Linked DNA regions of Homo sapiens: regions 2, 3 and 4 are each linked to region 1. The links are contacts of gene promoters, found by promoter capture Hi-C in blood cells and fetal thymus (Javierre and others, 2016). All regions are on one chromosome and are shown on one strand. The core of a region is centred on a gene start or on the middle of the fragment in contact, and the rest is flanking DNA. Distances in the headings are between cores, read along the strand shown. Region 1 holds the start of RALGAPA2 (Ral GTPase activating protein catalytic subunit alpha 2). Region 2 holds the start of GZF1 (GDNF inducible zinc finger protein 1). Region 3 holds the start of PET117 (PET117 cytochrome c oxidase chaperone). Region 4 holds the start of ZNF133 (zinc finger protein 133).

What was found. Contacts are between HindIII fragments. The CHiCAGO score rates a contact against its expected background, and 5 or more counts as called.
Region 2: the fragment with the promoter of GZF1 here is called in contact with the fragment with the promoter of RALGAPA2 in region 1 in 1 of 17 cell types (neutrophils); the score reaches 6.3 in neutrophils.
Region 3: the fragment with the promoter of PET117 here is called in contact with the fragment with the promoter of RALGAPA2 in region 1 in 1 of 17 cell types (activated CD4 T cells); the score reaches 7.2 in activated CD4 T cells.
Region 4: a contact is called between the fragment with the promoter of ZNF133 here and the fragment with the promoter of RALGAPA2 in region 1, in 2 of 17 cell types (fetal thymus and naive CD4 T cells). The highest score is 8.9, in fetal thymus.

Annotation. Positions count from the first base shown.
Region 1 is chr20:20,710,808-20,714,152 of GRCh38, forward strand. It overlaps RALGAPA2 (Ral GTPase activating protein catalytic subunit alpha 2), which reads right to left and starts at 1,837. Exons shown (of 40, transcript NM_020343.4): 1 at 1,568-1,837. The coding sequence starts at 1,673. RefSeq lists a silencer at 1,728-1,987 and enhancers at 1,979-2,273, 2,098-2,297. The HindIII fragment of the contact is 11,955 bases long and covers 1-3,345 here.
Region 2 is chr20:23,360,716-23,364,060 of GRCh38, forward strand. GZF1 (GDNF inducible zinc finger protein 1) reads left to right here and starts at 1,467. Exons shown (of 6, transcript NM_022482.5): 1 at 1,467-1,522. RefSeq lists silencers at 753-842, 1,263-1,752 and enhancers at 933-1,192, 3,007-3,066. The HindIII fragment of the contact is 6,657 bases long and covers 745-3,345 here.
Region 3 is chr20:18,136,004-18,139,348 of GRCh38, forward strand. PET117 (PET117 cytochrome c oxidase chaperone) reads left to right here and starts at 1,860. Exons shown (of 2, transcript NM_001164811.2): 1 at 1,860-2,048. The coding sequence starts at 1,953. KAT14 (lysine acetyltransferase 14) reads left to right here and starts at 1,860. Exons shown (of 11, transcript NM_001392073.1): 1 at 1,860-2,048. RefSeq lists a silencer at 2,229-2,348. The HindIII fragment of the contact is 825 bases long and covers 1,520-2,344 here.
Region 4 is chr20:18,286,912-18,290,256 of GRCh38, forward strand. ZNF133 (zinc finger protein 133) reads left to right here and starts at 1,616. Exons shown (of 7, transcript NM_001352452.2): 1 at 1,616-1,693. RefSeq lists enhancers at 1,189-1,238, 1,318-2,223, 1,329-1,668, 2,229-2,348. The HindIII fragment of the contact is 851 bases long and covers 1,219-2,069 here.

The sequences.
Region 1 (3,345 bases), core at 587-3,086:
CTGGACAGAACAAAAATTTAAACGCTAAAGCACAGAAAAAGGCTCAAAGTATCAAACGCTTTAAAACACAGCTCAACTCTCCTTTATCAAAAATGTCCCTGCAGTAGGTGTTAATCAGTCACTACCAGGAACTCCACACAATGCAACCTGTGTATTGTGCAACCTGTGCGTGCATGGTATCTACAGGAAGTAGAAAATTCAGTTTACCAAGAACGCCACACTTCACTCTCCACACTTCACTCTCAAAAGTCTTGAAAACGAATCCCTGTAACAGCAACTAATTTACATTTCATTTCAAACTGAACAAGTCAGTGTAACCTCAAGGTATGTGAGATTGTGAATAACTTCACTTGGCAAAATCAGGTGTGGTTTGGTTTGGCTTGGGTTCTTCTCCCCCTCAGAGGTAGAATATAAATAGAAATAATCAGCAACTTCTGATCTCATGAACAAGATCTTTATTTAAAATCTTCACACGTTAAATCATTTTATGCAATATTCTTTCAAGTGACAGACACATTAGCACTAGGCGATTTTTGTGAATTTTGGGACTAAAAGACACCTGGAAGAAACATAAGGTGTTCTTTCCTTCGCCACCAAATACACAGGTAAGTGTGTCTATAGATAGCAAAGGTGTTTTCATCCCAAAGAAAAGTTAAGACTTAGGATGTAAAAAAATACAGAAAACAAAACATAGCCTAGGCGAACCAGCTACAGATCACATGCAGCAGGTGACAGGAAGCCTTGTGGACACCTCACACCCACAGGGGCGAGCTTCATCACAGGTCAACTCCAAGCCCACCTGAGCTCCTCAGAACCTCCACCTGGCAGGCCATAAACCAGAAGGTGGCAGACAGCATCACTGTCATGCCGGTAATAAAGGAGAAGCAGCCTCCCTGAACCCAAGAAAACCACCCCTCTCTCCAAGCAGGAAGAGAAGGCCCCTTCACACCAAGGACACAAAGAAACTGAAGCAGCCAGACCCAAAATAAAAATTAAATTTAAAAAGCAGCATGGGAAGACAGATGACAAATCTGTGCTGGGATCGCCTGGAATCTCGGTCTATATGGGGGTCTCACACTCAAAAGTAAAAATAAAATTTAAAAGGGGGATGACAGAGATGAGAGCCCAATTAGGTCTGTGCTGGGTTCACTTGGGGTCTCGGTCTACTTAGGGTCTCAGACTCAAAAATAAAATTTTAAAAATGAAAGGGGGAGGTGACAGTTCAATGTGTGCACGTGATGACCACTTGGGATCCAGTTCACTTGCTGGGAGGACAGGGGACAGGTACCTCTGTGCCCGGCCTCCAGGTTCTCCGGGAGCGCAGGCGCCCAGCGAGAATCTGGGCTAAGTTTAACTCGAGGGCGACGGGAGCAGTGCCCGAGGGCCAGGCTGCGGCTTTCTGGAAACAAAGCCCCGGGGGTCCAAGCCCAGATCCAGGGAAGGGGGTCGGACGCCCACCCATCCCCCTCCCCAGCCTCCCAGCCACCGACCCCTGCACAGAGGAGCGCCCTCCCGGCAGGTGCCCCTAACCCGGCGCCCCGACCCCCGCGCCCGGCGCGCGCCTCACCCAGCAGCGCCCGCAGGTGCTTCAGGCGGGTCAGCACGTCCTTCTTCGGGTCCAGCACCTTCTGGGTGGACTTCTTCACATCCCCGTGGCTCCTTCGGGAGAACATCCCGCGGCAGGAAGCCCGGGCCCCGCCGGCGGGGCAGTAGGCGCCTGCGCCACGCGAATCAAAGCATAGGGTCGAGGCCGGCGCGTGTCGCGCGGGCCACTCGCCGCCCCCAGCCCCGCTGCTGCCGCCGCCGCCGCCGCCGCCGCCGCCTCAGCTGTGTCTCCAGGAAGGAGGGGCGGGCCGGTCACGGCGAGGGGCGGGGCAGGAAGGCGGTGTCGACGGGGAACCGAAGGCCCCGCCCCGCGGGAGGTGCCGGCCGGCCCCTTGGGCGCTACGCACGCGCACACAGGCCGAACTCTCCTGGCGGGACACTAGCCCGTCCGCGCCAAAACCTAGCGGGGACGCGCTCAGAGGGCCGAGAAGGCGCCTCGAATCACAAAGGAGCTTCTCTCACGCACACGTTGTACTACAAGTCCCGAGATGCACCGCGAGACAGTCCTCCAATCAGGCTGGCGGTCTTCGGCACGATGGGAGTCAGTGGGCCGGCATTGGGCACGTCGCCCCGCCCTGCCGCGGGCCGCAAGTGCTCCTGGGAAATGAAGTTCTCCAGCAGGCGACGCGCTGCGACCTCTTTTCCAGGGTCGCAGAAGCGCAGGGCGGCCTCTGTCCGTCCCCTGCCCCGGCAGCCTAGATCGCCCGTGGTTTCACTCTCCCTCCTGCGCGCCCACCCCATTTTCCTCTAGTGCAACGTGAACCACACACGCCCAAAAATCTCAGTAAGAAAAGTGTCAAGGCTTTTCAAATGCAAACTATTTTTAGGTTTAGCTTCTGGATTCACACAAGGGAGCGAGTCGAAGCCCCTCTGACCGTGCCGAAATCGCAGCTCTAATTTCACACTAAAATGAGTTGCTTTGGCACTAGGGAAGAGCGTGCCCCGGTGAGGAGTTCAGCCGGCCCCTAGGTTCCTGGAACCCAACCTCACTTGGGGTATGGAGGTCGCTCGCTCAGAGGGCTCCTTGGGATCTTGCCTCTTTGTAGGAAGGGTGCGTTCTCTGTTGTGCAAGCCACATGGCGATCCAGTAGCAGAACCAGAAATAGAACCTGAGGGATCTGACTCAGGCCTGTATACTTTTTAAAGCCAGGCGCTTATTCCCTGGGGCAAGACTTTGAGCTGAAAGATGGTCAGGAGATTTCTTACACTGTAGGATTGTATAGTGGCATCCGAATCCTGCAAGTTTTGACATCCTTTCAGCTTTTTCAGCAAGTACTTAAGGTAGAATCACGTGGTTTCCATCCAAATTGGGACAACACAACTGTCTTTTTCTCCTCTAGCTGAACTGTAACTTGAGGGAAGAGACAAGGATTTACACGCCTTTGTATCCCCATCCCTCAGCACAGTATTTGGCCCATAGGGTCACTCAATAAAAGTTTATTAAATGAAATACAATAAAAAGCTAAAGTAGTCCTACATATTTCAACCAGGCAGGCGAAAAGGAAAAAATAAATAAATAAACTCACAGTTTTAGAGCGTCTCTCTATTTTTAGATTTGTGTAATATTCCTTTGTATAGACACATTCATACAAAGGAATATTACTCAGCAATAAAAAAGAACAGACTACTGATAAACCCAATAACATGGATCACTCTCAGACCCGGAGATGAAAGCCCCATGCTCAAGATGATGGCAGAGCGGCCCTACCAGCCTGAGTCCCCAGATGATAACAGATCAGG
Region 2 (3,345 bases), core at 217-2,716, 2.6 Mb after region 1:
TCAAGGGAACTTGGCAGCATTTTTCATCACACACAGTTCATCTAACCTGATATTTGGGATGATCCTCTGTGTTAGCCAATTGGCTTTATCTAGAGGAAAAAGAAACTTGTATCTTTATGATATGAGATAATTTTGTAAGTTGGAGCAAAGGGCCCACTGAAGTTAGGCTCCTACTCCCCCATTAAAACTGGGAGACAGGGGCATTAACTCCCTTGATACTTAAAGAGATGGCTCCTAGGTCCTAGAAAAAGACATATCTAGGTTATAAAGCGCACAAAAAGGCCTAACTAGTCTTCAAAAGGATTTATATATTTCAAAGAGAGGAAAAAGTACTTACACTAATTACCAATTTTCTAAAAGTAAATGTTCGAAGAAAAAGGGAGGGAAATCTCATATTTTCAACAGGAAGTAGTAAACCTTATTTTAAATTTGTATTTGTCCTGACAGTCCCCAAACATTACAAACTCAACGTGTCGGTAAGACAAGGCTGAGTTAACTGCTGGCCACAGTAAGGGACAGCATGACCTGGCAAAGCTTTACCAATGGCTGGGAGCAAAAGGCAAGGTCAGTTTATTGAGAACTGGAAGTCTGACTCAAGGAAGGTGTTTCAAAGCGGGCTTTAGTTAGTATTGAGCAAGAATTGGTGGAAACAGCAAGATTTCGAGGAGTCAGCGAATCTTAGGGAATCAATTGTGCTTTCCCCGAAGAGTGGATGGGTCTCTGGGGAAGTTCTGTAGTGAACAAAGCTTTCGCCCGAATGGGAACTCCTGGAAATAAAGCCCTGCAGTAAAGACGGCAGGGTGCGGTCCCGGCTCCTGGCGCGCCGAGCCCCCCAGCAGGGCGGGGGCACCGCGGAAGAAGCGCCCCAGAGGAGAGCGCCGCGCCGAGCCCCGCCTGGCGCCAGTTCTCCAGCGCCCGTGGAGGCATCTGCGCCCCTAGTAGCCAAGGTGAGTACCAGCTCCAAGCCCGGCTTTCCGCGAGGTCCCTCGCGTGGCCACCGTGCCCTAAGGGTGCGCTCGGCCTCGGGGACGTGAGCAGCTCTTAGTGGGAAGCCAGCTGCAGGCCCTGACCGCAGGCTGCTGGGGCCCGGAAGCGCTGGCGCCTTGCGGCCAGAAGCCCGGAATGGACGCGAAAGTGACCACGCGAATCTGACGCTCACGTGACTTTTCGCGACTGGCCCCGCCCCCCTGTGGCGTGCCGCAGCGCAGACGTCGCTGTCTCCTGCGCAGGCGCAGGCCTTGGCTCGCGGCGGGTGACGCAATGCGGCGGGTGACGCAATCCGGCGTCGCCAGTCAGTCGCGCGGCCAGATCAGGTAACTGCCCGAACCGCTCCGCCGCCCGACGTGTGGCTCAGCCCCTTCCTCAGCCCCGCCAGGGGCGGGGCCGGCCGCGGGAGGGGAGGGGCCTGCAGCGACCAATCGGCGGTGCCCGCGCAGGGTGCTACGCCACGCCCAGCCGGGCCGGCCGTTCCTACCGGCCTGGTCCAGCGGACAGCGGCTGCAGCGGGGGCGCCGGCTGGGAGGTGAGTGCGCGGCCCGTAGGCCTGGCTCCGGCCCCTCGCCGCCCGCCGCCGCCTCTTTGTCCGCGCGCCCCGGCTGCTCTGTGGACCTGCGCGTCTCGGGGATGCGGGAGCGGGGGCAGGGGGCGGCCCGAGGGCCTGATCCACGCGGCCCCGGATGCCCGCGTCGGGAGGCGGCGCGTCGGGCCGAGGAGGGGCTTCTCTGTGGCTGCAGTAGTTTGTTCTCTGGGTCGTCTTTGGAGTGGCCGAGCGGCGTCCGGGCGCTGGGGCGGCCAAGTGGCGCGGGAAGGGTGGGAGGTGCCGTGAGGGCGGCGAGGACAGCGGCGGATTTAAGCCCCACTGGAAACCCCGGCCCTTGTGGCCGTGGACTGGGCTGCGGGTAGCAGCGTCTCCTGGAAGGGCTCTGGCCCCGTGAGCCTCGGGGATTCAGGGGCCGCCGACGTTGGTGCAGATGCCGGGCGCACTGGGAGGCGGCCGGAATGCCAATGAGATTCGGCGGATACGCAGCTGTCACCGGCCGCAGACTGCCCTGTCGCCACCTCCAGTGCCTGCACTCCAGTAGCCAAGCAACATAGGAAATCGCGCTCAGAACCCACTTTGTTGATTGAGAAATCAGGTCTCCTCGAGGGCCCTGTTGGCAGAGGTCTGGGGAAGTCAGGGCATCAGGCTGAGAGAGCCCTCTGCAGTCTTGTTTCCCCAGGCTGGGGCTGGGACCACTGAAACCCCAGTGGCTCTATAAGAGCCCCACTCTTATAGATCCCTTCCTTAGGCTTTGTCAGTGTTCTCACAGTTTTACTGGGGCGTCTCCTTCAGGCGACATTGATCAAGCCTCATAGGTACCTGTTTACAGCGGAACTCCCAGAGGGCAGTCTTTTCCATGTTTGAGGGACTGCTAGTTGTGGGGAGCGGTCTCATTGATGAGACTGGAGAAGGGGAGAGGGGTGGGACTAGTTTATCAGGGAAGATGATGACAACTTTTTTTCTAGACACGTTGAATCCGAGGTGACATCTGTGGTCTGGCCGAAGGAGGCTAGAAGGAAGGCATGTGCTTTGGATGGATGGAAACAGGAATCAAAGAGGAAGGTAGATTCAGGAGCTGAAGGGCAGGGAGAAAACACATTCAGGGAGTTTGTGGCAAAGCAGCAGAAATGACGATGGGGTGACGGTATCTGGAGGCCTTAGGTGGGGTTGGTGAAATTTGCATGCCCGCTGCAGTGGAAAGATTTAGGGGCTAAAGATAGCCCTTTGCCTTTGGCAAGGCTGAGGGGAAGAGTGTGTTGAGTAGTCTGAGTTGAATCCGGGCACCAGGCCCTGGCTCATGTCCCAACCAGCCATTGACTGTTACCTTGATAGGTCCTCATCTATGAAATGGGGATCACTGTAGCACCTTGGCCTATGTGTGGGAAACCAATAAACTAGCCAACAAGTTTCAGGCTCATGGAACCCTGGTAACAGCCGGTCAGCCTTCTTCAGAGGAGGAAATGGGTTCAGAGAAGTTGCTTGCTCAAAGTAGCACAGCTTGTAAAAGCTGTGGAACTTAACATTATTTCAGTAGAGTAACAATAATTCAAATTCTGAGGAGTTTAGGATGTTGGGAATGGGCGATGAATTGTGAACTACTTTTCCAAGAAGTTTTCCTCATGGAAAGTAGTTATTTAGTTGGTTCTTTTCAAAGGCAGAAATGATTCCCTGAGGTTTTGGATTTGCTCCCAGATGGTGGTGGCTATGTGTTTTAATTATCTGGTTTCCTGATCAGAGAACTAGACATTATTGTTGCCATGAATTCTTTTACAGTTTTGGGGACTATGTAAGCAAATTAGACAGTG
Region 3 (3,345 bases), core at 610-3,109, 2.6 Mb before region 1:
AAATACAAAAATTAGTGCAGCCTGGTGGCTCAGGCCTGTAACCCCAACTACTCCAGAGGCTGAGATACAAGAATCGCTTGAATCTGGGAGGCAAAGGTTGCAGTGAGATCACCCCACAGCACTCCAGCCTGGGCGACGGAGTGAGACCCTGTCTCAATTAAAAAGAAGAAAAGAAAAGAAAAAGAAAAAAATAGTTGCTTCTCAGTTTGATGATATGCAGTCACTCTCACAAATCAGTAATTTATGCGACAATAATCACGGAAAATATACTGCTTAGGCTTATAAATATTTAAACAGATAAACATACTTTTTTTTTTTTGCAAGACCTCCCTCAGTCCCCCAACCCACTTTTTTATTTGACACAGTTAATAATAAATGATTTCTTAAAAGTAGAATACTTTTTTTTTTGCTTCTAGTATCCTGAAAATAAAGAAAAGAGTACATTTCAAGAAAACAAGTTGAAAAATTAGTCACAATAAAATGAAAGGCGATTGATCTAATTCCCTGATGTACACTCTAAGGACATACAGCTCTGTTGAAGGCTCACTGATTTACAGGGGAAAATATCTAGGATATACCACGAATAAAAAGAAGTCTAATATAATTTTTAAAGAGAAATATGCAAATACACCCTGAACTGAATTTCTTCTCAAAGTTCATTACAGCAAGAACTCCATTTTCCAATTCAGTGGTACATTCTCTCTAGGCTGCAAAAAATGCTGTGGACAAAATGACATTTGGAAAAGGTATCTTTAAAGATACCTTTAAGAGCAATAGTCCCCTTATGCCATTTACGCTCACATAAGAGACTGGAATAGCAAAGCACTATGAACAGTAATGAATGTTGTAAAACTCCCTGGTGAGGCTTAATCAATACTGCCTATAGCCGTGTCCACCGGAAGAAGCTCGTTCTCTGTGAATTCTAGTGGGAAAGAATGATTGAATGATGAACACGTTTTCACTGGTTGCTCTATCAGATACTTAAAAGTTTCTGGGAGGCCTTGCCTTTTTTACCCGAGGAAGAAGTGAAAATGCGTCTTGCACAATTGCTTAACTATTCCCAACGCAAGACTTCTTTATATCATTTATTTCCCTTGTATTACTGGCGCGGAAACTTGGGTGTAAAAGTGATCACAAAGATTACATGGGGCCAGGCGCGGTGGCTCACGCCTGTAATCCTCTCGGGAGGCTGAGGCAGGAGAATCGCTTGAATCCGGTAAGGTTGCAGTGAGCCGAGATCGCGCCACTGCACTCCAGCCTGGGCGATAGACAGAGACTCTGTATCAAAATTATAATAATAATAATAATAATAATCCGAGCCTGACCAGTCGCCCCACAGCGTCAAGGTGAAACCAGGTGACCGCGACTACAGCGTTTAATAATGGGTCCTCAGGCAAAAACTCCACGGATGGGAACCCCGCGCCTCTGAAGCTGCCTAACGAGGCGGTCTCCTGGTGGCGCCTGCCCCGCCAAAGGAGCAATGAGGGGGCTGCGTTTAGGCGAAGCCGGTATTGGGCGAAGCTTCTGGATCAGTCAGGGGCTCAGAAGGGACGTCTGTGGGAGAGGGGTCAGCACGGTATCCAGACCCCGCCCGGGGTGAGGTTGGTACTGAACTGACTGAGGGGCATGGAACCCCCACCCTCCACCCTGGTAAGGTGCCGGGGCCAGTTTGGGCCGGGACTCCTAGAATTTGAATCGGGGGTGGTCTAACGCTGTCGCCTGCGGGGTGTGCAGGAGGCCCCTAGTGAAGCCAAGAGTTCGTAGAGCCTGGGCGCCGCTCTATGCTCGGCTCTCGATTGCTCACGCCTGGCAGCGGCGAGCGGCGCACGCGACGGCTGGGGCTCTGCGCTCGAGGGGTCGAGCCTGGGCAGTACAGGCGGCGGTGCGCACTCTGCGGCGGCCTCTGCGCCTCGGGCGGGCGGGAGAGAGAGGCCGCGGCCGCCAGCGTGGGGATGTCTAGGAGCTCGAAGGTGGTGCTGGGCCTCTCGGTGCTGCTGACGGCGGCCACAGTGGCCGGCGTACATGTGAAGCAGCAGTGGGACCAGCAGGTCGGTGTCACGTGACCGTCTCTTCCGGGCCCGCGCGCGCGGCGTCGACCTGGGGCCTCTCGTGGTCTCTGCCCGCTCGGTTCCTCAGCTCCTCTTCGTGTCTTTCCCCCGCGGTGGCGCGGCCCTGCACCCCACGCGTTTGCGGCTGCGGCCGGCGGCCGCTCTGCTGGGCTCCGGGCGCTGCAGCTCCCGGCGGGCGTGTGCAGCCCGCAGATTCAGGACGACCCGGCTGCCCGGCTTAGCGCCTTTGGAGCTCCGCGCTGAAGGGGCCTTGCTCCGCACAGGCACGGCACGCAAGCTTTTGGGGTGCCCAGTGGCTCTGTTTTCAAGTCACAGCCGGCCCGCAGGGTGCGGACCTTTCCACATCTCACTTGGGCCGCTAGAAAATAGAAGGTGGGGAAGGAGTTTCTTGGGGTGCATTCTGCAAGCTACCAGCCTCCCTCCTGGCCCAAGGTTGGGGTTAAAGCCTAATGTGTTTTACGTGCTATTGATTTTATCCCATGGTAAGGGAGCCCCCCTTCCCCGTACTCACTCTCCATGCCTTTGACCAAGATAATTTGGTGAGATGTTTGCACTTCTCGTTTAAATGAACAGTTTGCTATGGAAACTAGAATCTGGGAACGATAGAGATAACAGTCTCCAGATTTTTTTTTTTGGTACTTTTATTTCAGGAAATATCCGTGACCTGCTGATCAGCAGTGACTATTCTGTCCTCTCAGTTCATATTTTCTTTCTTATTCAAGTTGACAGACCTTTAATGGGTGATTACTGTGTGGAAGCTACCTCACTAAGCACCTTGGGAATACAAAGATAAGGAAACTCCACTCTTCCAGAGTCTATCAGTGATTCACGACCTTGCTGAGAACAGGGTCATTGGTGAATTTTCAGAAAACAACTTGGCAGTGATTGGGGTTGAACCTAGTTCACCAAGGGTGAAAATAATGGACTGGATGAATCAAGAGTAAACAGTCTTTTCTTGATTTGCCTACCCAGACCTTTGGACTGTGCTATGTGCTTGATATACAGAGATGAAGTGGATGAGGTCTTTGTTCTTGGTGTTCACAGACTGTGGAAATTAGAAGAGAGGAAGCATGTGATGGTACAAGAATTTTGACGAGGGGTTGAGATGACTTAACAATGAAAGGGCACAGGAGAGATCAGAGATTTGGGATTAAAATGTGCTCCTAAGGGGCTGGCTTTTGGAATAGAGGCAGAAGACTTCCGCCTCTTACAAGGAAAAGTAAAAGATGTTGATCCTGGGAAAACTTGAGATGGAGTAAAATTTAGTATGACAGAT
Region 4 (3,345 bases), core at 366-2,865, 2.4 Mb before region 1:
AGAGTGTTTTAGAAAGCAGGCAATCCAGATTTCTAGATGGAAACTCCTAATTATTAAATGCTGAGGTCTGTCAAAGATGAAACTGGAGGCTGGACACACCAAATATCTGTATGACAGAGCTGTACATCTAGACGGTGGACATCTAGCATCCCTGTCTATATGCAAGTCAGCTGGCTGCAAGACCACGTGCTGCTGAAAATCTCACTGTGGTCATGACAGTCCACCCAGTGGCTCAGACCCTGAGATTCTGTTCACACTTCCTACACTCTTCCTTACTCGTCTGTGTTCTTCCAACTCCTCATCTTGCCTAATTCCTCAGGCAGCACCTCATCCTGTAAGTCTTCATTTCCAGGCTTAAGAGATGTCAGCCATCTGTGTCTTTATTGTACAGCCAGCACAAGTGAACACTTGAACACAGGCATCCCTGCATTGTTGTTCTGAACCTTTATGTGTATTAACAACTAATTTCTTGGTGATGACTGACTCATGAGGCAGAGAATGATGTTGAGGGATGAATCCAATTGACACTGGACATGTCTCCGGAGCCAGGACTGAACTGAATTCACAATAAATAATGTAGCCTCGGGGTACCAGAAGGGAATGGATTCACCCTCTGAGAGCTACAAAAGAATTTTAGGAAATTCTCATCTCCCTGGCCCTTCAGACAGTGGTCATTTTCTTGGTCTTCCAAGAGAATGACAAAGTTTCAGAAAGCCTATCTGAGGAAGGTGAAGGGCAGTGAGAGGGTGCACGGGTGGAAAAGCCCTCTCAAGAGTGACGTGGGCCTTCCCCTCGAGCTCCCCAGATGGGGCGTCCCAGATGGCACCAGCGCAATCTTGTTCTCAACCAGGATCCCGGACAAAGACCTAGAGATCCAAGCCGACGGCAGGCCAAGCTCTGGCCCGAGACTGAGGCTTCTGCTTCTCAGGAGATGAGAGTTTAACAATAACTTCGTGGATTTCAAAAAGAAGAAAAAGGTCTCAGGGCACCGGAAAAGGTGTATTCGGGTTGAGGGCGTGGGCTCAGAATCGGGTCTACCTCGTACGGGATGTGAGACTTCAGGCAGACTGCTCGGCCTTTTCAAGGCTTTAAATGGAGCTAAAGGGTATACGACATGACGTTCGCCCGGTGTTTAGGAATATGGGGCGTGACTTTCCAAGCAGGCGGCTGGAGCCAGGGAGACCACAGGCCGCTGCAACACAAACCAGCACCTGAACAAGCTTGGTCAGCCAGCGGTACACCTCCGCCAACCCCAGAAGCCGAACAGATGCGCCCCGAAACGTCATTTCCGCGCGCCAAGGGGCGGGGCCGGTACCGGGTGCGGAAGTCGCTCCAGGGGTCACTGGGAAGTGTAGTTTTCGAGACAGAGGCGCTCAGAAGGAGGGTCACAGTAGGGCCAGGCACTCTTCTCGGGAGCTCCTACGTGTTTTATGCACGTGGTTAAGAAAAAAGAGGGAGAATTCAGGTGCCACAGTGGCCATTCTCCGGTGACCGGAGCGTGTTACTCAGAAACGGATCCGTCAGAGGCCAATGGGAGCTGCCGGCCTTCAGGGCGCGCCTGGTGGCGCCGAGCATCCTGGGAGGTGTGGTCCGGGCGCTGTGCCGAGGATTCGGGGTAGTGTAGTCCTGGCGCCCCGCTGGAGGAGCTCCCCAGCTGGTGGCTGGAGCGACCCCTTGTTCTTTGGTGGCGCTGGTGAGTGAGGCTCCCGCGGGACCCTTGCCGCAGCCGTACCCTTTTCTGCGCGAAAAGGAAGGTCCCGAAAGGCTGGACTATGGGCTGAATTTGGGGACCGTGCGGGTGGCGCGGGGGTGGTGATTGTGGTGGGAACGCGCTGGCGTGGCGCAGGCCGTCCTCTCCCAGATGTCTTATTTTGGGGGTGTGGGCGTGCATCTCCAGGGGAGTTGGGTGAAGCCCATCCGTGAAACTGGATGGTGATGAGTGGGGGATCGGGCTCTCTCTCCTAGGGTTCTTGTGGGTGGGGACAGGTTCGGCTTTGGCTGAAGTCGGGTATTGGGAAAGGGAGTCGCTGATGCCATAAGTCCCCGGTTTTGGGGGAGTTGAATAAATAAGCTTTTTGGGGGAATGGTATTTCCCAGGTGGTGGAATGGGAACCATCCCTGGGGCCATGTGTCCCCGAGGCATTGGTCGGTTGAGGGCTAGTCTCTTGGGGCCACACTATTCTTCGGCTTTGCTGGAGTGGAATGAGGAGCGGTCTGGCTTGACCAAACAAGCCAAGGTTAGACTGGATCTGGGGTGGCCATTTTGCCGCGATCTTAGGGTTTCACTTTGGTTGGTCACCCCCGGGTTCGGGCGTTGGAGGAGGAAGTCTGGCTGGGACGCACAGGACAGGTTTTTTCCAAAGGTCCCAGGGACCGTCATTGATCGCAAGAATTACGGATTCCCAGGCCCCTGGTGTGGCCAGGCTTTGGGATTTTACATTCCATTTAAGTTTTTATTGCGGAGAAATTTCAAACAGCCAGAAGTAGATAGAACTCTATAGACCAGATCTCCATCACCCAGATTCAACACTTAAAACCTTATGACCAATCTTGATTCATCTCAGAATGGACACAGAGAATCCTTGCAATCCAGAGTTCACCGTCACTGCCCTTACTGTGTAAGAGCACGGTCTCCACAGCCACATTTCCTCTAGGCTCTGTCACTTTATAGCTGTGTCACCTTGGGCAAGATGCTGACTTCACTGTACCTCAGTTTCCTCGATTTTATCCTAAAGAGGATAATAGCATCTATCGTATTGGGTTGTTGAAAGGATAGAATGAGGTGAAACTCCTACAGTGGCTGTAACAGTCTCTGGTGTATACTAAGTGTTCAGTGAATATTACCTTTCATTAATAACAGGCACAGAGAAGGTCGCTTCATGCTCAGCGTCAACAGCATATCAGGGCAGGTCGTGCTTTCAACCTGTACCCCAGCTGTGTTCCCAGGAAGCTGCCCGCAGTTCTTTTCTCCTTTTCTTCTGTGGCAGGTTCATTCCTGATGCTGTTAAGGAATAGGAGGTACTGCCCTGCTGGAGAGGATTTCCCTTGATTTTCTTGAACGCTTTTTGTTCTTGTTCTGCCTCCCTGTGGCTCCTGTCTGCCCAGAGAGGACTGCCTGCTGGGGAAAGGGGGTACTCCTGAGCTCCTGACAGCCCAGCTTCAGGTGGGTGCCACTTACCTTTTGCATTTCGAACCATGAGTGGGTTTCTTTTGCTCAGCTTTGACGTCTGTGTTCTACAATGTCCCATCCAGGGATCAGGGCCCCAGCTGGTTCCTTCAGGAAACTAGGCTTGTTTTAAGAGTGATCATTTTCACAGGGAATATTTTTCAGAGCTGATGCTCTCA